Regions from separate parts of the Homo sapiens genome. Here region 2 is linked to region 1. Evidence: promoter capture Hi-C in 16 types of primary human blood cells and fetal thymus (Javierre and others, 2016). All regions are on one chromosome and are shown on one strand. Each heading gives the region's core, a stretch centred on a gene start or on the middle of the fragment in contact. The rest is flanking DNA. Distances are from core to core; before and after follow the strand shown. Region 1 holds the start of SLC35F3 (solute carrier family 35 member F3). Region 2 has its middle 140 kb from the start of MAP3K21.

The links. The method cuts DNA at HindIII sites, captures the fragments that hold promoters and counts their contacts. A CHiCAGO score of 5 or more calls a contact.
Region 2: a fragment that was not itself captured here is called in contact with the fragment with the promoter of SLC35F3 in region 1 in 1 of 17 cell types (M0 macrophages); the score reaches 5.1 in M0 macrophages.

The regions. Positions count from the first base shown.
Region 1 is chr1:233,902,701-233,909,755 of GRCh38, forward strand. It overlaps SLC35F3 (solute carrier family 35 member F3), which reads left to right and starts at 1,976. Exons shown (of 8, transcript NM_173508.4): 1 at 1,976-2,430; 2 at 2,829-3,058. The coding sequence starts at 2,378. The HindIII fragment of the contact is 5,426 bases long and covers 1,493-6,918 here.
Region 2 is chr1:233,461,602-233,468,640 of GRCh38, forward strand. No RefSeq gene overlaps it. Among named protein-coding and RNA genes, the nearest start is that of MAP3K21, 140 kb to the left of the region's middle. The HindIII fragment of the contact is 720 bases long and covers 3,746-4,465 here.

The DNA.
Region 1 (7,055 bases), core at 726-3,225:
AATTTTTACTTTCATGGATCATGCCTTTGATGTTGTATCTAAAATGTCATTTACAAACCCAAGGTCACCTAGGTTTTCTCCTTTTTATCTTCTAAGAGTTTTATAGTTTTGCATTTTATATTTAGGTCTATGATCTATTTTGAGTTAATTTTTGTGAAAGGTGTAAGGTCTGTATCTATGTATCCAGCTTCTTTTCTTTTTTTCTCTCTTTCTTTCTTTTTTTTTTTTGTGATTGGATGTCTAGTTGTTCTAGCACCATTTGTTGAAAAGGTGATCTTTTCTCCATTAGATTTCTTTTGCTCCTTTGTCAAAGATCACTTGACTCTATGTGTGGGTCTATCTTGGCCTCTCTATTCTGTTCCATTAATCTATTTGTCTGCTCTTTCACCAATACCACACTGTCTTGATTACTGTAACTATAGTAAGTCTTGAAGTTGGGCAATATCAGTCCTCAGACTTTGTTCTTCTCCTTTAATATTGTGTTGGCTATTATGGGTCTTTTGCCTTTTCATATAAACTTGAGAATCAGTTTGTGATATTCACAAAATAACCTCCTGGGATTCTGATTGGAATTACTTTGAATCTATAGATGAAGTTGGGAAGAACTGACATCTTAACAATATTAAATTTTTCCATCCATGAACATAAAATATCTCTCTATTTATTTAGTTCTTTGATTTCTTTCATCACAGTTTTGTAGTTTTTCTCATATAGATATTGTACATATTTATTAGATTTGTACCTAAATATTTCATTTGAGTGGTGTGCTAATATAAATAGTATTGTGGTTTTAATTTCAAATTCCCATTGTTCGTTGCTAGTATATAGAAAAGCAGTTGACTTTTGTACATTAATTTTGTATCCTTCAATCTTACCATAATTGCTTATTAGTAACAGGAGAGTTTTTTTGTCAATTGAAATTTTTCTACATCAACAGTCATGTCAGCTGCAAAGACAGTTTTCTTTTACCTTTTCCTTCACAATACGTATACTTTTAATTTCCTTTTCTTGTCTAATTTCATTAGCTGGGACTTTCAGTATGATGCTGAAAAGGATTGCTGAGTAGAGACATACTTGCCCTGTTCCTTATTTTAACAGGAAAGCTTCTAGTTTCTCACCATTAAGCATGGTGTTAGCTGTACGCTTTTGTAAATGTTCTTTTTCAAGTTGAGAAAGTTCCCCTCTATTCATAGTTTGCTGCTATACAATATGATTTTAATATAAAAAAAGCAGTACATAAAGTAGTGTGTACAATTTCATTCCGATTTTTGTGACAACTGTATTTTGCGTTGGAAAAAAGCCTGGAAGAGAATACGTTCATAATTGAAAGTCGTCATTTTTGGCTGGATAATGGATATTTTCTTCTCCACATACTTCTATCTTTTCTAAATTTGCCCCGATGAAAAATAATATTAGGAAAGGTGATTAGGTAGTCTGAAGAGAATGCCTTTCGGCCGTCGGGGGCAGTGGGGTGGTAAGGAAAAAGATGAGAAGCTTTTAAAATGGAAATCTATGAAGAGAGAACTGATTTCGTAATTGCATCATCAGTGGGAAAGTAAGCTCTCTGAGGACCAGGTCTGACTGAGAGATCCCCACAGCGTAATAGATAATACATTTTGTGTCTCAGCGTTGCCTATGAAACGCCATTTATTCACTTGGCATGCTGAGCATGGAACCAGGTTTCTTTCTTTCCAAGTAGTTTTGCTAATTTAGAGAAAGAGAGAGACAGACATATACATAGAGAGAGAGAGAGAGAGAGAGAGAGAGAGAGAGAGAGAGAGTGTGAGAGAGAGAGAGAAAAGTACTGAACTGGGAGCGGCAGGGTTTGAGTCAAAAGAGAAGGGTGGAGGAGCGCGTCCGGTGCCCCAAGGCTTCCAGGCGGAGCGCGGGCGCGAGGTGCGGGCTCCGGGGCGGAGCGCACGCCCGGGAGGCGGGAAGTGGGCAGCAGCGCCCCCGCCTGGCCCCTGTGCGCCCCGACCCGACGCCTCCCCGCCCGACCAGGTGCCTCGAGAGCGCACAGCTGGGAGGGCTCTCCCGGTCGCGGCGAGACTCACGCCTGCGGTGTGCTAGGGCGGCGGCGACGGTGACGGGCGTGGGGCGCGGCGCTGCCTCGGCTGCCGGGTCGTTGCGGCGAGCGCGCGGGCCGGCCTGGAGTCACCGGGCTGAACCGCCGCGCCTGCATCGTGCCGCACGCCGCGGAGGCGCTCGGGTACAGACCGCGCGGGCGCGCACAAAGCGGCCCGGGGCGGCCGGCGCGGCGCAGACCCTCGGTGGGCAGCGCACTCCAGTCTTCCCAGGCTAGCGGCTGCAGGGAGCTCCGGCCCGCGGCCCCTCCGCCTCAAGTCTGGGAGCTGCCGGTCCCACTCTGTCTTTGCCTATGGGGATTCGAGAGTTTCCCAGCGGCGCACCCAGGGGCAAGAGCATTGCCGTGTGAGTAGCGCCCCGGGCGTGGGTGAGCGAGCCGGCGGGCGGGAGGCCGGAGCGCCGGGGTAGCCCTTTGCAGCTGGGACACTGGGCAGTCTGAGGCTCGGGGAAGGGCGGCGCGCGCGGTGGAGCTGCTCGGGAAGTTTCAGTCATTCTTTCCCTCGCCACTCGCCCCAACCCGCACTGCCCCGAGACGCCCAGGATAGGGCACTGGGGACAGCTGCCCGGGGAAGTGGGTGAGTGGCGGCGGGAAGGGAGGAGCGCGGGCTCTGCCGCGGCGCTCGCCCCCGGAGGGCCCCGGCCGCGCTCTTGCTCTCGCCCTGGGATCTGCTCCTCACGAATCCCCTCCTCTCTGTCCATGCTCCCCCTGCCCACCCACCTGCCCGTGGCGCCTGCGACCGCAGTGGCATGAGGAGGTCACCGGACGTCAGCCCCCGGAGACTGTCCGACATCAGCCCCCAGCTCCGGCAGCTCAAGTACTTGGTGGTGGACGAGGCGATTAAGGAGGATCTGAAATGGTCGCGCTCCGTGGAGGATCTCACCAGCGGGCCGGTGGGGCTCACGTCCATCGAGGAGCGGATCCTGCGCATCACTGGCTACTATGGCTACCAGCCCTGGGCAGCGAGCTGCAAAAGTAAGACCCCCTCACGTCATGTTTCCCGTTCACTGGTCCATCTTCTTACCATTGTCACAGCAGCCTCGGGGAGCGCACGCAGTGAGGCGTCCAGCCACCCCCTCCCGCCCTGCCTGCTGATACAGACCCAGGTTTGCAACTTCGAGGAAGAGGCCCGGAGACGGAGTTCTCCTGGACCTCTGAGGCGTTCTGATGCGTTCTCTTACACCCCTTCCTCTCCCACACACAGGATCTCTCTGTATCCTTATCTCTCCACTGCCAAATACGGAGGACACTCCTATGTGGCAGACCGTGGGAAACAGATCAGAAACTCAAAGTATCCCGGACAGTGTGGCTTCCCCGCGGATCTGAAAGTCTCACAGGGCCCTCGGTCAGGTCTCACCAGGCTCAGATGGAGATGCTGACTTACATAGCCAGGATTTTAACTCTTCCTTGCATCTCCTAGCCCTGATGATAGAGGACAATTCTTGGGGTCTTCATTTTGGATGCCGTTCACGCCCTTCTCCCCTGGATTTTATCGGTCTTCAGTAAGGAGGTTCTATAGGGATCATTCTAGATAGTGGTGTTGGTCCCTGCAAGTTGAATGTTTGGTGTCAGGTGGAGAAGCTGAAATGTTTTTCTTTCCGTGGGTCCTAGCTAATGGCTTTGAGGATGCTGTGATCAATTAGACAGACATTATCTTATGTCACCAGGACTAATTTGGTGGACATTTCTTTTTCTCACTTTGCAAGAGAGAGGTTGATTATGATGAAATCCAGATATCTATAAATATAACCATAATTAGGTGGTCTCATCACTGTAGTTTGACATAAGAGATTGCCATTTGCCACCTCAGTCCGTATGAGAAATGGGCCTTGACGTCTTTCATTTGTAATAAAGACTAGATTAATAGCTTGTTGATTTTGAGTTTTTTTCGACCTTTTATTGCTTAAAATTGAAACATTATTTATTGGTCTTTAAGGGGAAAACGGGCGTTTGTAATTTAATCATATTCATCACTAAAAAAAAATGTCTATCTTTAGATTATTCCTAAAACCTGCGAGTCCAAGGCAAAGGTCAGTGGTATGCTAGCAGTTAGCTGGTTAGTTTAAAATTATTTGCAGGAAGAAACAGGATTTGAATGTTTTGTTTTCATGCAACTTGCTTTTAAAAGACTGTGTTTCATTGGGTATAAGCCTTTAAAAAAATTGTCTGTATCTCTTCCAATCTCTTGCCTCTGCTGCTAAAATTGTAGCTTATTACAAAAGGAAGACAAGGGGCCAAATTCTCTTTTTGGTTGAAAAACCCTGGGCATGGGATAACAAAAATTAAACCCCATTGGAAACCATATTTCTTATGGGCATGGATAGAACGCTCAAGTTTTACTTCTGCTTTCTAAATTTCTATTAGAAAATAGCAATTTTCTATTCTTATTTCCATTTTCTGCTTCCTTAATAACAAAAGACAGTGGTATAAATGACAGCCTTCATAAAGTCATCTCTTTGGTGCTTGAAGTCATAAAAAGGTTTTATCTTTATAAATCTATTTGTGACTGGCTGTATGTGCTTTGTGGAAGTTATCACCAAGGTTTGTGATTTGGGGGCTTGCCAGAGAGCTTACAGCAGTGATGACTGTTTGGTACAACATGTTTTGTAATTAAGACAAGAGAAGGGCCATGTGGAAATGGAGTCCCTTGCATCACTGGAGGTAATTCTTAAATGCCTCTCTCTGAGGCTTCACTGGAAGAGTAAATAGTAGCAGGGAAGGCTACAGTGATCATTGAAATATGAATAAAATCAGCTCATTCCACTCTCTCTATTCCTGTGAGGATTCTTCTTTATTCCAAGGTATTTCCTTGTTACTATAACGCTTTAGGTGACAACTGACATTTTGGTGAATTAATTAGGTGTAATGTTTAAATTTAGAGAAGGTAATGTTTTATTAATGTATTAATGCAGCAAAAGAGGTTGTCTTTTTGTTTTTTTTTTCTTTGTTTTTTGAGAGGGAGTCTCACTCTGTCACCCAGGCTGGAGTGTAGAGTGCAGTGGCATGATCTTGGCTCACTGCAACCTCCACCTCCTGAGTTCAAGTGATTCTCCTGCCTCAGCCTCCTGCGTAGCTGGGATTACAGGCGTGCGCCACCACATCCTGCTAATTTTTGTATTTTTAGTAGAGATGAGGTTTCACTATGTTGGCCAGGCTGGTCTTGAACTCCTGACCTCAGGTTATCCACCCACCTTGGCCTCCCAAAGTGCTGGGATTATAGGCGTGAGCCACCACGCCCGGCCCAGAAGAGGTTTTAAGGCAGAACTTTTGCTGTTTGCCATTTCTACTCAATTGATAATAATAAAGAGGCTTATCTATTACCTGTAGGTATCACCTAGTTGCTTTATTTGTTGGTTGGTAATTGTACTCTATAAATGGGGAGAGATGATGGTTACAAAAAAAACAAAACAAAGACAAAAAAAAAAAATTCTCATGATCTCCAGAGTGAGTTATGGAAGCTCCAAGCTATTATGTCACCTTTCAGTCATCTTTCAAAGTGATTTATCTGTGTCCTAACTGAAGGAGTTGCCAGTGAAAGTTTCTGGATGTAAGTCATTTGCCCTTGTAGCAGAAGAAACCATTTGAATGACCCAATATTCATTTGTATCCTCTTCATTTTTAGATTTTGTTTGGGTTGTTAAGATAAATGAGGTAATTGTGAACAGTACAGAAATTACCTTTGCTCAGTATTCTCAACTCAGTCATTTGGATTCGCAAGTTTCGCTCTAGACAAGAGAATTTTGTAAAGGATTCTTTTTTTTTTTTTTTTTTTTTTTTTGACAGAGTCTTATTCTGTCACCCAGGCTGGAGTGCAATGGTGCAATCTCGGCTCACTGCAACTTCCACCTCCCGGGTTCAAGCGATTCTCCTGCTTCAGCCTTCTGAGTAGCTGGGACTAGCACCACCATGCCTGGCTAATTTTTTGTATTTTTAGTAAAGATGGGGTTTCACCATGTTGGCCAGGCTGGTCTCGAACTCCTGATCTCATGATCTGCCCACCTCGGCCTCCCAAAGTGCTGGAATTACAGTCGTGAGCCACCGTGCCTGGCTTAAAATTTGCCCAGCTTCCCCAAATAATAGTATTTTTTTTTAGAAGGAGTTTTGCTCTGTCGCCCAGGCTAGAGTGCAGTGGCACAATCTCAGCTCACTGCAACCTCTGCCTCACAGGTTCAAGCGATTCTCCTACCTCAGCTTCCTCCTGAGTAGCTGGGACTACAGGCACCCACCACCATGCCCGGCTAATTTTTGTATTTTTAGTAGAGACAGGGTTTCACCATGTTGGTCAGGCTGGTCTCGAACTCCTGATCTTGTGATCTGCCCTCCTCGGCCTCCCAAAGTAATGGGATTACAGGCATGAGCCACCGCACCCAGCCTAGGATTCTTTTTTAAAAATCCCAAAGGCTCCTGGGTCTGAAAGGGATGGCTTTTGTGAAACATTCAACTGAGAATTAAACTGTAAACAAGGAAGTAAGAAGGGCCCAGTTCCTCTTCTCAGTGGCAAAAGTCCTCCAAGCTCCACATTCCATGTTTTTGAACCAAACCACTTGGCAGTATTCCTGGGAATTCTTCAAATTATCATCTGTTGAGTGGATCCAGGGCCCAGAAAGCACCTGGGCCACAGGAGGGACTCAATAAATATTTGTTGAATGAATGGATGGCTGCTGCACGAAATACTGACCTCTGGGACAGGGAGCTTTGAATATGCCTCTGTAGTGATTTGTATCATTTACCTCTTTATGCTGACTTCCTGTTATGTGGAATTGCTCTACTCTTTCCTAGTTCTTCCATCACAAGTGCTTCCTGAACCACAGACTGGACCAGAATTCTTGGTGATAAGCTTTGGTTTGGCCCAGGGTTTCTTGATCTCAGCACTATTAACCCTTTGTGCTGTATAAGTATTTGTTGTAGGGAGCTGTCATGTACATTGTAGGATGTTTAGCAGTATCTCTGACCTCTGCCTATTAGATGTCAG
Region 2 (7,039 bases), core at 2,856-5,355, 440 kb before region 1:
TTCAGAGGTAGGGTCATCTCATCAAAAACAAGGTGATATAAATAGAGCAGGAATCATGACCCCAAACCTCCAGTGGCTCATTCAAGTAATTAAGGAAGTGATTAATTAGATTCTGAGATGAAAGATAAAACATGAGAAAAATGCTTTGTTACTCTCTGTATTAGTCAGGATTCTCTAGAGAGACAGAACAAATAGGAGATGGATATAGACATAGATTAGATATGGATGTAGATATAGATAGGTAGATGGGAGAGGATTTATTAGGGGAATTGGCTCAAATGATTATTGAGGCTGAGAAGTCCCAGGACAGGTTGTCTGCAAGCTGGAGACCTGGGAATTCTGGTAGTACAGCTCAGTACAAGTCCAAAGGCATCAGAGCCAGGAGTGATGCCATCAGAGCCAGAGGATGATGGTGTAACTCTCATTCCAAGGCCAAAGGCCTGAGAACCCAGGGGTCATTGGTGTAACTCGTGGAGTCCAAAGATCAGAGAGCCTGAAGTTGTCCAAGGACAGGAGAGGGACAATATATCCCAACTCTAGTAGAGAGATTAACCTATTTGCCCTTTCTGTTTTTGTTTTCTGCAGGTCCCCAGTAGACTAGATGGTGCCTGCCCACATTGAGGGTGGATCTTCCCCACTTAGTCCTCTCAGACTCACATGCCGATCTCCTTTGGAAACACCTTCACAGACACACTCAGAAAAAAAACGCTTTACCAGATTTCTAGGTATTCCTTATTCCAGTCAAATTAACATCAAAACTTAATCATCACGCTCCCTTATTTTTGTTTTCCTAATTGTTTCATGCATGTAAATAGCTCTAAGAGAGTCCATCAAAACCATGAAATCTCTTCCCTCCCAGAACTGGGTGGCACAGAAAGTGGTGGAGGCTGGTGTCACGATGCAGATGAAATACGGACCCATGTAAATACAGACCTGTAGTCTGCCACTGCTACAGAGGCTCCACTTCGTTGTGGGATGTAAGATGCAGGTGCAGACTGAAATAGGGAAACTCTGAGCCAGAGGAGGAGACAGTGATTTGGGCCTCCATATGCTCTGCGGGATATAGATCCTGAGCTCCACTGACCCCCATTCCAAACTTAGGAGGCTTCCTGCTTTGGCTGCCATTCAGGGACAAATTCATGAAGACTTCCTCATAGCTCTTCCTCCCAAGGCAAATCCATGGACACCCTCCCCTCTGGCTCCCCTCCCAATTGGTGGAGGCTGGGGGAATGGATCTAAAGTAGGAGGGACCTCAAATCTGATAGTTATTCAGGTCTTACTGGAGCTTCCAGAGAGCTGGGCCTTGGGATCTTCATTTATAAAATGAGGGGTTTGCACCAGGCAGTCCGTGCCAGCTCAGATTCTGCAAACATGATTTCCTTTACCTATTTATTTCTAAAGTAATGCGTGGGCCTGCACGATGGCTCACGTCTGTAATCCCAGCACTTTGGGAGACCAAGTAGGAGGATCACTTGAAGTCAGGAGTTCAAGACCAGGCTGGCAAACATGGTGAAACCCTGTCTCTACTAAAAATACAAAGCTAATTGGGTGTGGTGGCATGCACCTGCAGTCCCAGCTACTCAGGAGGCTGAAGCAGGAGAATTGCTTGAACCAAGGAGGCAGAGGTTGCAGTGAGCTGAGATCGTGCCATTGCACTCCAGCTTGGGTAACAGAGGGAGATTCCATCTCATAATAAAATAAAATAATGTGTGCTACTTAAAAAGCCTCAAATAATACAATGTATATAAAATCCCTTCATGTGTTTTGAGCTGTGACAATGCAAATATGAAGAATGAGTAGGGATCATCTGACTGTCTATGACTATGTCTCCATTTGACGGGGACAATTTCCATTTGCACCTGTTGTCTGTCAGTCATTGCTAACAACACTCCTTTTATTCTCAAAATTTCCCAGTTGAAATGATTATTTATATGGACCACACAAGCATGGACAGCCCTGGGTGTGGTGCTACGCCACGGCTGGCTGATGAGAGTAGTTTCCCATAACTATAGAAGACATGGGCAGAGCTTTAGTTAAATAAGAAAAAGAGACTGAATAAGCTGACTGCTATGATGTGTCAAACCCACCAAGGCCTAGAATCCTATGTGATGTCCCCAAAACCCTATGAAAAAAGAGGGGGATTCTAAGACGAGTGAATGCCCAGTTATAACCCTAAGGTAAAGGGAGAAGGAGGGGCATCTGGGGAGTCAGTGGCCCTTCTAAGACTTGTAGACATCAAACGAACGCCACTCTCTGTGGGATTAAAAAAGTGGCAGAGAAATTCACACACACACATACACACACACACACACACACACATACACACACACACACACACACCACACCACACACCATTTCTTGACCCTACCTCCCTCTCCAGTTGTCATTTTATTCCATGCTGTCCCTCATCACCTGGTTTTCTGAAAAATAACCCTGGCCTTATTGTTTCTCCTCTTTTACTTTGGTCAAGCTTCTGTGCCCACTCCTCACTCTCACCAAGATCATTAATGAAGCACTTCAGGTCCTTGTTAGTTGACCTGCCTTCTTGCAGTGCAGGATGCTGATTGCTGTCTTTTTGAAGTCTTCCTTTTCCAACCTCTGTAGTGCTCCTTCTCAGACATCTTTGCTCAATCCTTAGAGTTTGGGTTCCCCAGTGTTCTGCCCTCATCCCATTCAACAATTCTTCCTGCAGCTCTTGTCCACACCAATTCAACTATTACCTACAAACCAGTGAGTTGAAATCCCTATCTCCAGACGTTTCTCATGAGTTCCATGCTTATATACCTGACTACCTTGAGACACATTCCTATAGTTTTTCCCCATGCACCCCACTTCACACGCTTAAACCTGAGATCATCAACTGCCTTCACCATTTCCCAAGCCTATCTTGACTCTTGCATCCCTAATCTTGTGGAATCTCACTGGCATCTACCCCGTTCCCAAGGAAGGTCTATATAAACTATCAACTTTATTTTCCTTTTACTCCTTACATCCAAACAGTCAATAGATGCTGTCAATTTTATGCTTTTGACCTATATCATGCTTCTGCCCTCTTCTCCATCCCCACTTCCCTTCTTCAGGCTTCTATTACTTTCCATCTAAAACACTGCATGGGCAACTTCATTGATCTCCTTGCCTCTAGCTGTGTTCCCTTTTGGTCCAACCCTGTGTACTCTGACATCAGAGCAACCTTTTGAAATCCCAAATCTGATCACTGTTGCCACTTTATTGGAGTTCCTTCCTATGTAGCTCTGTTTTCCTTGGGGTCCTGGAATGATATTGGAGAAGGCATGGATCAGACCAATAGCTATAGGAGAAATGGCACATAAAAGCCAAGGTCTTATCATAGGCTCGGGACATTCTTTATATATTTTTTTTCCTGAACACTGTTTGGATTCGCCCCATTAAGCAGAGCAAACACCAAGATTCTTTTACAATTGGAAAAAGGTCCTAAGAAGGAGACCCTGGGGTTCCAGTTAATTTGACTGTGTGGTGGCTCAAGAAGCTAGTTAGAAAGATATGTGACCTCATTTGTTTTCCTAAACTGATGAAGGGAGCCTACAGTTACATGTGAATAAGGAACTGTAGCAATGAATAAAGAACTGTAGCAGAGAGAAGAGACAACCTGGCACATGCTGGTTGGACTCCAGTCTTCCAGGGTTGGGAGATGCTCCTCCCGTACTGCATTCTAGTGTTTCCCTCTAAACTTCTGGATTCCATCACGTCTCTGCTAAATACACTTCAAAGCTTCCTTCAGGATTAAAGCAAAATTCTTGAGACTAGCACATGACATTGTACTTGGTCTGGCCTCTGCCTTCCTCGCTACTCTGCCAACTGTATCTCTTACTCCAATTAGACAAATCATTTTCAAAAGTGCCACACTTTGGTCTTGCTCCATGTTTTCTCTGCTGGGAACCTCTTTATTCTCTCAGGGCTTCTGTGCCTCATTCCTTCTTTGCTGTTTGGATGAGATTTGTTTATCCCCATCAAACCTCATGCTGACATTTGATCTCCAATATGGTGACCTTGGGAAGTGGAGCCTAGTGGGTGGTGTTTAGGTCATGGAGGGCGGGGAATGAATCCCTCATGAATGGGAGACTGAGGTGGGAAGATCACTTGAGCCCAGGAATTCAGGACCAGCCTGGGCAACATAAGCAAAGTCCCGTCTCTAAAAATAAAATTAAAACAGTTAGCTGGGCATGGTGGCACATGCCTGTAGTCTTAGCTACTCAAGAGGCTGAGGCAGGAAGATCTCTTTGAGAGGTGACAACATGCTAGCAGCCCTCGCTCACTCTCAGCGCCTCCTCGGCCTCGGTGTCCACTCTGGCTGCGCTTGAAGAGCACTTCAGCCCGCCGCTGCACTGTGGGAGCCCCTCTCTGGGCTGGCCGAGGCCGAATTTGGCTCCCTCTGCTTGCCCGGAGGTATGGAGGGAGAGGCCCGGGCGGGAACCAGGGCTGTACGTGAAGCTTGTGGCGAGCCCGGGTTCCGGCTGGGTGCAGGCTCAGTGGCCCGCAGTCGGAGCGGCCGGTCGGCGCCGCTGGCCCAGGGCAGTGAGGGGCTTAGCACCCAGGCAAGCAGCTTCGGAGGGTGCGCCAGTTCCCCCAGCACTGTCAGCCCGCCTGCGCCATGCTCGAATTCTTGCCGGGCCTCAGCCTCTTCCTTGCGGGACAGGGCTCGGGACCTGCAGCCCTCCATGCCTGAGCCTGCCGCTGCCCCTGCCCTGGCCTTGGCCCCCCGCCCACCATCTTCTTGCATGCTGTGGAAGCTTTGTTCTTTCCCTCTTTGCAATAAATCTTGCTTCTGCTCACTCTTTGGGTCCGCACTGCGTTTATGAGCTGTAACACTCACTGCGAAGGTCTGCAGCTTCACTCCTGAAGCCAGTGAGACCACGAACCCACCAGAAAGAAGAAACTCCAGACACGTCTGAACATCTGAAGGAACAAACTCTGGACACAGCATCTTTAAGAACTGTAACACTCACTGCGAGGGTCCGCGGCTTCATTCTTGAAGTCAGCGAGACCAAGAACCTACCAATTCCGGAAACATCTTGAGCCCAGAAGCTCTGGGTTGCATGGAGCTATGATTATGCCACTGCACTCCAGCCAGGGTGATTGCGTCAGATTCCATCTCTTAAAAAAAAAATGTCATGGAGGTTATGCAAGACAATGTCAAGGTCAAGGAACCATATTTTGTCACCGAAAATTCATTATCTCCTTCAACAGAAATATTTACATTGTAGCCCAGTGTATGGCTAAATTCCCTTTCCCAGTGTCCTTTGCAATTAGGTGTGTCATGTGACTGGTTTTCAATAGGTTGTGCACAGAAGATACATTTCTGCACCAAGGATTTTAAACAGTGGGTATGATACACCCTTAATTACTCTTCCTTTTTTTCCCAGCTAAGTGCAGAAAATGCCAAGACCCTAGGGGATGGTGGAATGACAAGATTGTAGGAGCTATCTGCCATCCAGAACACATATCTTGAACTGTTGTGGGAGCAAGAAACAAACATCTGTTGTATTAGCAACATGGTACATTATGTAGCCTATTAGTTATAGCATCTTGATCTACTCTAGATAATGTAGAAAGCTATTTAAAGTTGTTGTTGATGATAAAATGGTAGTAAGAATTGGTTGGCAGGGGTGAGACTGATAGAGGATATGGCAATAGTTTGAGATGGCTGAATCCACAAGACTGATTTAAGTGACTTCATGCAGAGGGTGAAGGAGAAGGAAAAGGTGATGAGGACTCTAAGGTTTTGCATGGGTGATTGGTGATATCATTCACTAAGGAAGGGATTCCATCAAGGAGGGTGGGAGACAGGGAACAGAAGGTGTCAGGGAGTGGGAAAAGGGCAGTCATGATGTGGTTGAGGTTGAGGTGTCAGTAGAAAATCTATATGGAAAACTCTGGTTTGCAGGTGAACGTTTATATGTGGAGGTCAGGCCAATGGGGTCTAAGCTGAAACCCAGGTGTTGATGAGGTAACGACATATAGATGATAATGGTAACAGTTGGAGCATCCAAGGAGACTTAGTGGGCCAGAAGCAGACCAACGGCTGACTATGAAGGAAAATCAACATTCTAAGAGGGGAGAGCCTTAAAATACCTAGACATAAGCCTGAAAAGGCCCATGTGACAAAAGACCAGAAAAATTCACATAAAGTTGAGACATACAAGTCTTAAATAAATGGAGACATTTATCATGTTTGTAAATTGGGATATCAAGATTGCAAAGAGATCGATTCTCCTAAAGTGATGTATAAAATCAATGCAAGCATAATACAAATTATAACATGACTTTTTCGAGGAATTTGGCGAAGCCATTCTAAAATCCATGTAAGACAGTAAGTATGTAAGAGAGGCCAAGACAATTTTCAAAACAAAAAAAATCCAGAGTGTGTATGTGTGAGAATTGTGTGTGGGGAAGGGATGGGGGGACCATAGCCCACTAGGTGTGAATGTGTTACAAAGCCAGAATGACTAGGACGGTGGCATAGTGGGGGATTAGACAAATGGACATAGGGCCCAGACATACATGAATACATCTAAGGGAATTTAGCATTGGGAAAATGTTTTATTTGTGTAAACAATTTACATGCAATCACTGCTTTGAACCATTCACACAAAACCAAATTGCAGATGGTATAAAGACCAATACATAAAATAAATAAATAAATAAATCAATAAGGGCTATGAAAGCATTGTAGGAAAAAAATCAGAAGATATATACTGATAACCTTTATTTCTTTATTAGACAAGGCACAAATGCAAAGTCAGAAAGGAAAGACATGTTATTTGGAGTACAATAAAAAAATCTTAATGGCAAAATATATAATAGTTAAAACACATGGACAGGGAGAAACATTTGTAATATCCATAATAAAGAACACATGCCTAGATGAAGGCTGTCTTAAAAATGCCTAAAAATAACAAGGGAAATGCAAATAGCAAAAAAAGATAAATAAGCAAAGGACAGAACAGATAATTCACAGAAGCGAGATTACAAGTGGCTTAAAAGCAAATGAAAATGAACTTAA